Regions from separate parts of the Homo sapiens genome. Here all the other regions are linked to region 1. The links are contacts of gene promoters, found by promoter capture Hi-C in human tissues and cell types (Jung and others, 2019). All regions are on one chromosome and are shown on one strand. The core of a region is centred on a gene start or on the middle of the fragment in contact, and the rest is flanking DNA. Distances in the headings are between cores, read along the strand shown.

What was found. The method cuts DNA at HindIII sites, captures the fragments that hold promoters and counts their contacts. A contact is called where the count stands out against the background at its distance.
Region 2: a contact is called between a fragment that was not itself captured here and the fragment with the promoter of BMP3 in region 1, in 1 of the 25 tissues and cell types used here (H1 embryonic stem cells).
Region 3: a contact is called between a fragment that was not itself captured here and the fragment with the promoter of BMP3 in region 1, in 1 of the 25 tissues and cell types used here (stomach).

What each region holds. Positions count from the first base shown.
Region 1 is chr4:81,029,406-81,031,978 of GRCh38, forward strand. It overlaps BMP3 (bone morphogenetic protein 3), which reads left to right and starts at 1,303. Exons shown (of 3, transcript NM_001201.5): 1 at 1,303-2,195. The coding sequence starts at 1,880. The HindIII fragment of the contact is 7,363 bases long and covers 1-2,573 here.
Region 2 is chr4:80,862,538-80,865,110 of GRCh38, forward strand. All of the region lies in intron 3 of CFAP299 (cilia and flagella associated protein 299), which reads left to right. Among named protein-coding and RNA genes, the nearest start is that of BMP3, 170 kb to the right of the region's middle. The HindIII fragment of the contact is 3,790 bases long and covers 1-2,573 here.
Region 3 is chr4:80,881,503-80,884,075 of GRCh38, forward strand. The region is part of intron 4 of CFAP299 (cilia and flagella associated protein 299); the gene reads left to right. Among named protein-coding and RNA genes, the nearest start is that of BMP3, 150 kb to the right of the region's middle. The HindIII fragment of the contact is 3,077 bases long and covers 1-2,573 here.

The sequences.
Region 1 (2,573 bases), core at 53-2,552:
ACTATTAATAGTGTGGTTATCTGGCCTGAGGCCAGAAATCAGACTCCCTGAATTTGGATCTCAGTTCTGTCACTTACTATGTATCCTTTTGCCTCAGTTTCCTCATCTGTAAAATGGGTTTTGCTGTGAAAATTATTTGGTAATATACTTGAAATATAAATAACAAGGCATGTCTAGAGCATAAGTGTGGAGAAAAATGTTAGCTCACAGTTGTTTTTTGTTTGTTTGTTTGTTTTTTGTTTTGAGACAAAGTTTGCTCTGTCACCCAGTCTGGAGTGCAGTGGCACAATCTCGGCTCACTGCAACCTCCATCTCCTGGATTCAAGCCATTCTCTTGCCGCAGCCTTCCCAGTAGCTGGGATTACATGTGCGCACCACCACGCCCAGCTAATTTTTGTATTTTTAGTAGAGATGAGGTTTCACCATGTTGGCAAGGCTGGTCTCGAACTCCTGACTTCGTGATCCACCCGCTTTGGCCTTCCAAAGTGCTGGGATTACAGGCCTGAGCCACTGCGCCAGGCTGCTCATAGTTTAATCTCCATTGTACAGCCATGACAAGAGAGAATTAGGAAGACAAAGCTAGCGACTCTTACATTCTGTTCCGGACTCCGGGATCTTCCACACACCCTTGTTTTTAGCCACCACTGCACCATCCTGCTGGGAAACCTTTTGGGGACCTGTAGGAAGGAAACCTTTGGGGGAAGCTGTAGGTGGGGTTGTGGTGTGTTTGCTTGTTTTCTTATTTGTTTTTAACATGATATTGACTCGCACATATTTCTCACCTCGAGAGAAGATGATGCGGGAGAGAGGGGCGTTATGATGGGTATGCTCTCAGAAAGACAGGAAGCTATGATGACGGGCTGCAGGTGCAGGGGCCCGCAGTGTCCGTCAGAAGAGGCTCGGGAAAGTAAGCGAGAATGGTGTTCACGTTGTGACTTTGTTTGGAATCATAAGACCGAAAAGCCAGGAAGAAGTTCTGTTTTCCTCTGCCCTCTTGCTAGCCACCACACAGCCACTGTTCTTGGAGAATTAAAAAAAAAAACAAACAAAAACAAAACAAAACAAAACAAAAAAACCGTCCCTCCTACCATTTCTTTAGTCCTGAATCTCCTTTTCCCTTCCTCTCCCCAGCCATCCCCACCCCTACTTCCTCTTCTCTCCCTCCCGCTGCCAGTTCTCTGGTTACTCCCCCCCTCCCTTGCTTCTATCCCAGCCTGGTGCAAGCTAAGAGGGCGAGGACGAGGGAGTGGGAGAGATTGGCTGAGGACTCTACAGATCAGCTAGAGAGCGAAAGAACTAAGTCTCTCTCTCTCATACACACACACACACGCACACACGCGCGCGCGCGCGCGCACACACACACACACGTACACTAAAAAACTCGGACCAGCCGCGCCGCAGCTGCTCCAATCCCTGGAAAAGGCAATCGAGCGCCCTCCGGACCGCTGCGCACAGCCCCGGCTCCGACCTGGCGCCCAAAACAGAGCTAGTCCTAGTCCCTCGCGCGGCCAGTTTGGCCGGGTGTTCCCAAAAATAAAGCGAGGAGGGAAGGTACAGACAGATCTTGAAAACACCCGGGCCACACACGCCGCGACCTACAGCTCTTTCTCAGCGTTGGAGTGGAGACGGCGCCCGCAGCGCCCTGCGCGGGTGAGGTCCGCGCAGCTGCTGGGGAAGAGCCCACCTGTCAGGCTGCGCTGGGTCAGCGCAGCAAGTGGGGCTGGCCGCTATCTCGCTGCACCCGGCCGCGTCCCGGGCTCCGTGCGCCCTCGCCCCAGCTGGTTTGGAGTTCAACCCTCGGCTCCGCCGCCGGCTCCTTGCGCCTTCGGAGTGTCCCGCAGCGACGCCGGGAGCCGACGCGCCGCGCGGGTACCTAGCCATGGCTGGGGCGAGCAGGCTGCTCTTTCTGTGGCTGGGCTGCTTCTGCGTGAGCCTGGCGCAGGGAGAGAGACCGAAGCCACCTTTCCCGGAGCTCCGCAAAGCTGTGCCAGGTGACCGCACGGCAGGTGGTGGCCCGGACTCCGAGCTGCAGCCGCAAGACAAGGTCTCTGAACACATGCTGCGGCTCTATGACAGGTACAGCACGGTCCAGGCGGCCCGGACACCGGGCTCCCTGGAGGGAGGCTCGCAGCCCTGGCGCCCTCGGCTCCTGCGCGAAGGCAACACGGTTCGCAGCTTTCGGGCGGCAGCAGCAGGTGAGTGCGCGAGGTGAGACTCCCTTCCCGCGGTCCCGCCCCAGCTTTCTCCCGGGACCCCCCACAGCTTCCTTGTCTGCCCCTTGCTTGGTGGCGCTGCCTAGGGACCTTTCTCCGCCCTCCTCAGCTGCCCTCTGGATTCCTCCGTCCAGTCACACCCCGCGTGTCGCCAGCTGCATCTCCTGTAAGCCCAGTTTTCAAATCCAAAGTGAGAGGGGGAAATAGAATGAAGGCGCGGAGCAGTGGAGGGGTAGGCTGGAGGAGCTTCGTGGAAAAAGGGAAGGGGCGACACCCCATGCCTGTGAGGCCTCCTGCCCTGAGTGACTGGAGCACCTCTAGGGTACCTTATTCTGTTGATTCCTAAATCGGCCAGCGGAA
Region 2 (2,573 bases), core at 33-2,532, 170 kb before region 1:
TAACTACAGATTGCAAAGTGGCTGCAATTATCCACTTTGTCCTTTGTCCATGACCTTTTGCAATGACATTTGGTTCCTCCCATCAAGAGAAGAAGTCACTCTGCCCTGCCTCTTGAGTCTGGACTGGCCTGCAACCTGCTTTGGCCAACAGGATGTGGAAAATAAAAGTGTGCTTGTTCTGAGCCCAAGCCTCCAACAGGAAAGACAAAGAACTGTGCTAAACATAACCCTGTGAATTGTATGAATAGTGAAAATTATATATTTTATATATATATGTAAAACTGCGATTGACTGAGATAATATAGAATTTAAAAACAGTTATCAGCACAAAACATTCAGAAAATAACTTGTTGCACAGAGATTTATAATGATGGGCATTTCTAAATGTTAGAAAACAATAGTTGATTCGCAGAGAACTTAGGCTACATTTGCAAAATCACTTATGTTCTGAAACAAAAAGAAGGGTCCCTAAAATTAATGATTCATTAGCGCATTCAAGAGATTTAAAATTCTAGCACATAACGATTCCTTCATTTGTCTCTATCAGAGAGCACACTGACAGTCTGCTCTCTGGGTAACACAAGAACTTAGCTTTGTTTGACAGCTCTCATTCCCTGGAAAAGGATGTTTCAGTTTCAGTACAGCAACATACTGCTTAGCATGCTTTTTTTTTTTTTTTTAAGTGACTTTGGCTTCACTGTCAATAAAGTCCCATTTCGATGTATCAGTTTTATGTCCCCTCATTAGTATTTGGCAAGAAAAATCAGGCAACACATGTAGTCAGCTTATAACAAGTTCATGAATTTGTATTTTAATCCACTTCTGGGAAAAGACAAGCAGCCAAAGATCCAAATGATATATTAATGGTCTAAATTTTACTCTAATTCATCTTTTTCCAATATATGAGAGGTAATGAGGACCTAACTAAGTATTGCATAAGTCTTTTCAACTAACATTGGTTCACTTTTGAGGTCACAGGCTCCCTCAGTAAAATCTCAGATTCTACATGCCCCTTGGTGTCTTATTCCCCACTTCAATATCAGAAGCAATGTGTCTTGATATTTCTTCATTGCTTGTTCATGTGGGGATTTTTTACATGGTTAACCAAAAACTAGTATTTTCTGCTTAGGTTGCCAATAAATAGATCCGTATTCATGGCTTCAAATGAATAGCATGTGATTTTTTTAATGCTTTTGTTGGTTGTACCTTGACTTGTTCTAGATAGGATTAAAGGGTTTTATCTAAGGAAAATATGAATTTTGGAAGTTTTTCCTTTATAAACATAGCATCATCATTTTTAAAAGCCTTTTAATATATAAAGTATCGTTTTCATGTGTCTTTTGGGAAATTAACTGTGATTAAAAATGTTATTAGAATGAAAAAGATCATATATTGTATGATTCCACTTTTATGAAAAATCCAGAAAAGAGACTCTATAGAGATAGAAAGTAGATTAGTGATTGCCTGGGGCTGGGGGTGGAGATAGGGATGGCTACAAATGTCATAAGGGATCTCTTGGGAGTGATGAGAATATTCTAAATTGGAGTTGTATTGTGCAACTCCATAAATTTACCAAAAATCATTGAAATCACTTAAACTTCATTGTGAATTTTTATGTTAAGTAAACTATACTTAAATAAAGCTTTTATTTAAAAATGTTTTTAGTTAAACCTAAGCAATTATTTATAACATTTTAAAATTATTCTTAAGTCTATAGGGCTCTGAATAACAAAGCTTTCAGTTACTGAAATACATCACACTCAGGCTGAAATAAACCTAATTCTTCAAGGGGCTCTTTTGACCTATTTGCCCCATTCTGGATGCCACAATAGTGGTTTTATTGTCAATTGGGTGTGTCTTGTATATATGTGTGTGTATGTGTATATATATAGGTATATATATATATATATACCTATATAAGTATATATATACCTATGTGTATACATATATACACATATATATACATATATACCTATATATACGTATATATACATATACGTATATATAGGTATATATATATAATAACTAAAACGTTTGTTTCAATTTTAGCTTCAAATTATATAAAAAGTTTTAACTGTGAATAACTAAACTTAAGAAAGAAACTGAACCATGTATGGCAACCCTAACATAACTATATACACCAGGCAATGGAATTCTGATATGATTATTCCATTTCCATATCCCCTAAGGAATTTATAAAACTCTTAACATGCTACAAATACAATAGCAACATTAATGACAAAAGTTTTCAAAAGCAATAGATATTATTTATTGAGTGCTTACCATGTATCAGGCATTACCAAGGGCTTAGCAAAATAGTGTTATTTAATTCACACACCAATTTAGGTATTATTATGCCCATTTTATTATAGAGGAAACTAAATTTTAAAATGTATTACTAACTTACCAGTGTCACACAGTAAGTAGGTGACAGAGCCAGCATTTGAATCCAAGTCTATCCATCATGCAGTAGATAAGAACCTGAATATCATGGGAAGCCAAGCTGGGTGTGAGTTTGGATGCTCCCCTCTCTAGCTACATATCCTTGGGAGTTACCAAAACTCTCAATGCTT
Region 3 (2,573 bases), core at 26-2,525, 150 kb before region 1:
GGGGGAAGAAAGTTTCCAGTAAGTTTCCAGCCTTACAGTGTGCTCCTTGTTGAGTTGGCCTCTATCTTGCCTCATATTAGGCACTATTGACCAGTGTGTATGCCTCTCTGAGTCTGGACTAGTACATAAAGCTTGGAAGAGGTATCTGCTTCTTTAAATGTACAGACAACAAAGTAAACCTACAAGGAATATGAAGAATTAAGAAAACATAACAAAATTTAAATAAGAAAACAATTTTTTAGTAACTAACCCAAGATAAATGGAGATCTGTGAATTGCAAAAGAATTCAAAATAATCATCTTAAAGGTGCTCAGTGAGTTACAAGAGAACGTGGATAGACAGCTGAACATAATCTGGAAAACAATAGATGAAATGTATGAGAAATTCAATAAGGAGATAGAAATGATGAAAAAGAATTAACCAGAAATTTTGAGGCAGAGGAACACCATAACCAAAATGAAAAATTTACTAGAGGCCTCAACAGCAGATTTTATCAGGCAGAATAAAAAATCAGTAGGTTTAAAGACAGGTTATTTTAAATTGTTCCATCAGAGGAGCAAAAAAAAAGAATGAAAAAGACTGAAGAAAGCCTAAGAAACTTATGCAGCTCTGCCAAGAGAATCAATATACGTGTTATGGAAGTTATAGAAGGAGAATAGAGATAAAAATTGGTAGAAAGTGATTTAAAGCAATAATGATGGAAAACATCCTCAGTCTCAAAAAGGAAATGGAAAGCTAGATTCATGAAGGCCAAAGGAACCCAAATAGGTTGAATTTAAAGAAGTCTACATAAAGATACATTGTAATCAAATTATAAAAGTCAAAGGAAAAGCAAAGTTCAAAGTGGTAAGTAAGGCCGGGCGCAGTGGCTCACTCCTGTAATCCCAGCACTTTGGGAGGCCGAGGCGGGCGGATTACGAGGTCAGGAGATCGAGACCATCCTGGCTAACACGGTGAAACCCCGTCTCTACTAAAAGTACAAAAAATTAGCCGGGCGCGGTGGCAGGCGCCTGTAGTCCCAGCTACTCCGGAGGCTGAGGCAGGAGAATGGCGTGAACCCGGGAGGCGGAGCTTGCAGTAAGCCGAGATAGCGCCGCTGCACTCAGGCTTGGGCAAAAGAGCGAGACTCCGTCTCAAAAAAAAAAAATTGAAAAAAAAAGTGGTAAGTAAAAAGTGTCTCATTACATACAAGATAATCACCATAAGACTATAAGTATACCTCTCAGCAGAAACTTTGTAGCACAGAAGAAAATGAGATAATATATTCAAAATATTAAAAGAGAAAAAACTGCCAACCAAAAATAATATACGAGCAAAGCTATCCTTCAGAAATGAAGGAGAGAGAAAAACTCTAAAACAAAAATTGAGAGAGCTCATTACAAGACCTGCCTTATTAGAAATGCTAAAGGGAATTCTTCAAGATGAAGAGGACACAAATAGATGCTGATTAGAAGCATGAAAATACATAAAATTATAAATCTCATTGCTTAAAATAAGGATATAGATAAAATATAATAATGGTGATGCATAAATCATGTTCAATTCATATAAAAGTTAAAAGACAAATGCATAACAATATAACTACAATAATTTGCTAATAAATATACAATATTAAAAGTTATACATTTTGACTCTAATAACATTAAGCATATGAGAGGAATGAAGAAGAAAAGTTGAGAGTTTTTGTATGTGATTGAACTTAAGTTCTTATCATGTGAAAATGGACTGTTATAACTAAAGATGGCATATATTAGCCTCACGGTAAACACAAATTAAACCTGTGCAAGATACAGAAAATATAAAGAGAAGGAATCAAAGCATACCACTATAAAAATCATGAAATCATAAAGAAAAACAGCAAGAGAAGAAGAAAGGAACAAAGAAACTACAAAATGTTCAGAAAACAACAAAATGACAATTAAAAGTCCTCCCTATCAATAATTACTATATATGTAAATAGTTAAATTTCCCAATCAAAAAAGTGGATGAAAGGATAAGAAAACATTATCCAACCATATGCTGCCTACAAACGACTCAGTTTACCTTTAAGGACACAAATAGGCTGAAAATGAATACATTTTCATGAAAAAAATGTTACATAAAGTAATAATTAAAAGAGAGCAGGAGTGTCTAATCTTATATTAGACAAAATAGACTTTATATAGAAAATTTTCACAAGGGATAAAGAAGTTCATAATAGAGTGATACAGAAGCGAATTAAGAGGATATAATTTTTTAAAATATGCACTCAGAGCTCTTAAATATATGAACCAAATATCAACAGATTTGAAGGGAGAGATAGCAATACAATAATAATAGAGGACTTCAATAGTCCACTTTTTTGTTTGTTTGTTTGTTTGTTTGTTTTTACTTTTATTTTAAGTTCAGGGGTACACGTGCAGGATGTGCAGGGTTGTTACATGTGTCATGGAGGTTTGTTGTACCAATTATTTCATCACCCAGGTATTAGGCCTGGTACTCAATAGTTATTTTTTCTGATCCTCTCCCTTTTCCCACCCTTCACCCTCCAGTATGCACTGGTGTGTGGTGTTCCCTTCTATGTGTCCATGTGG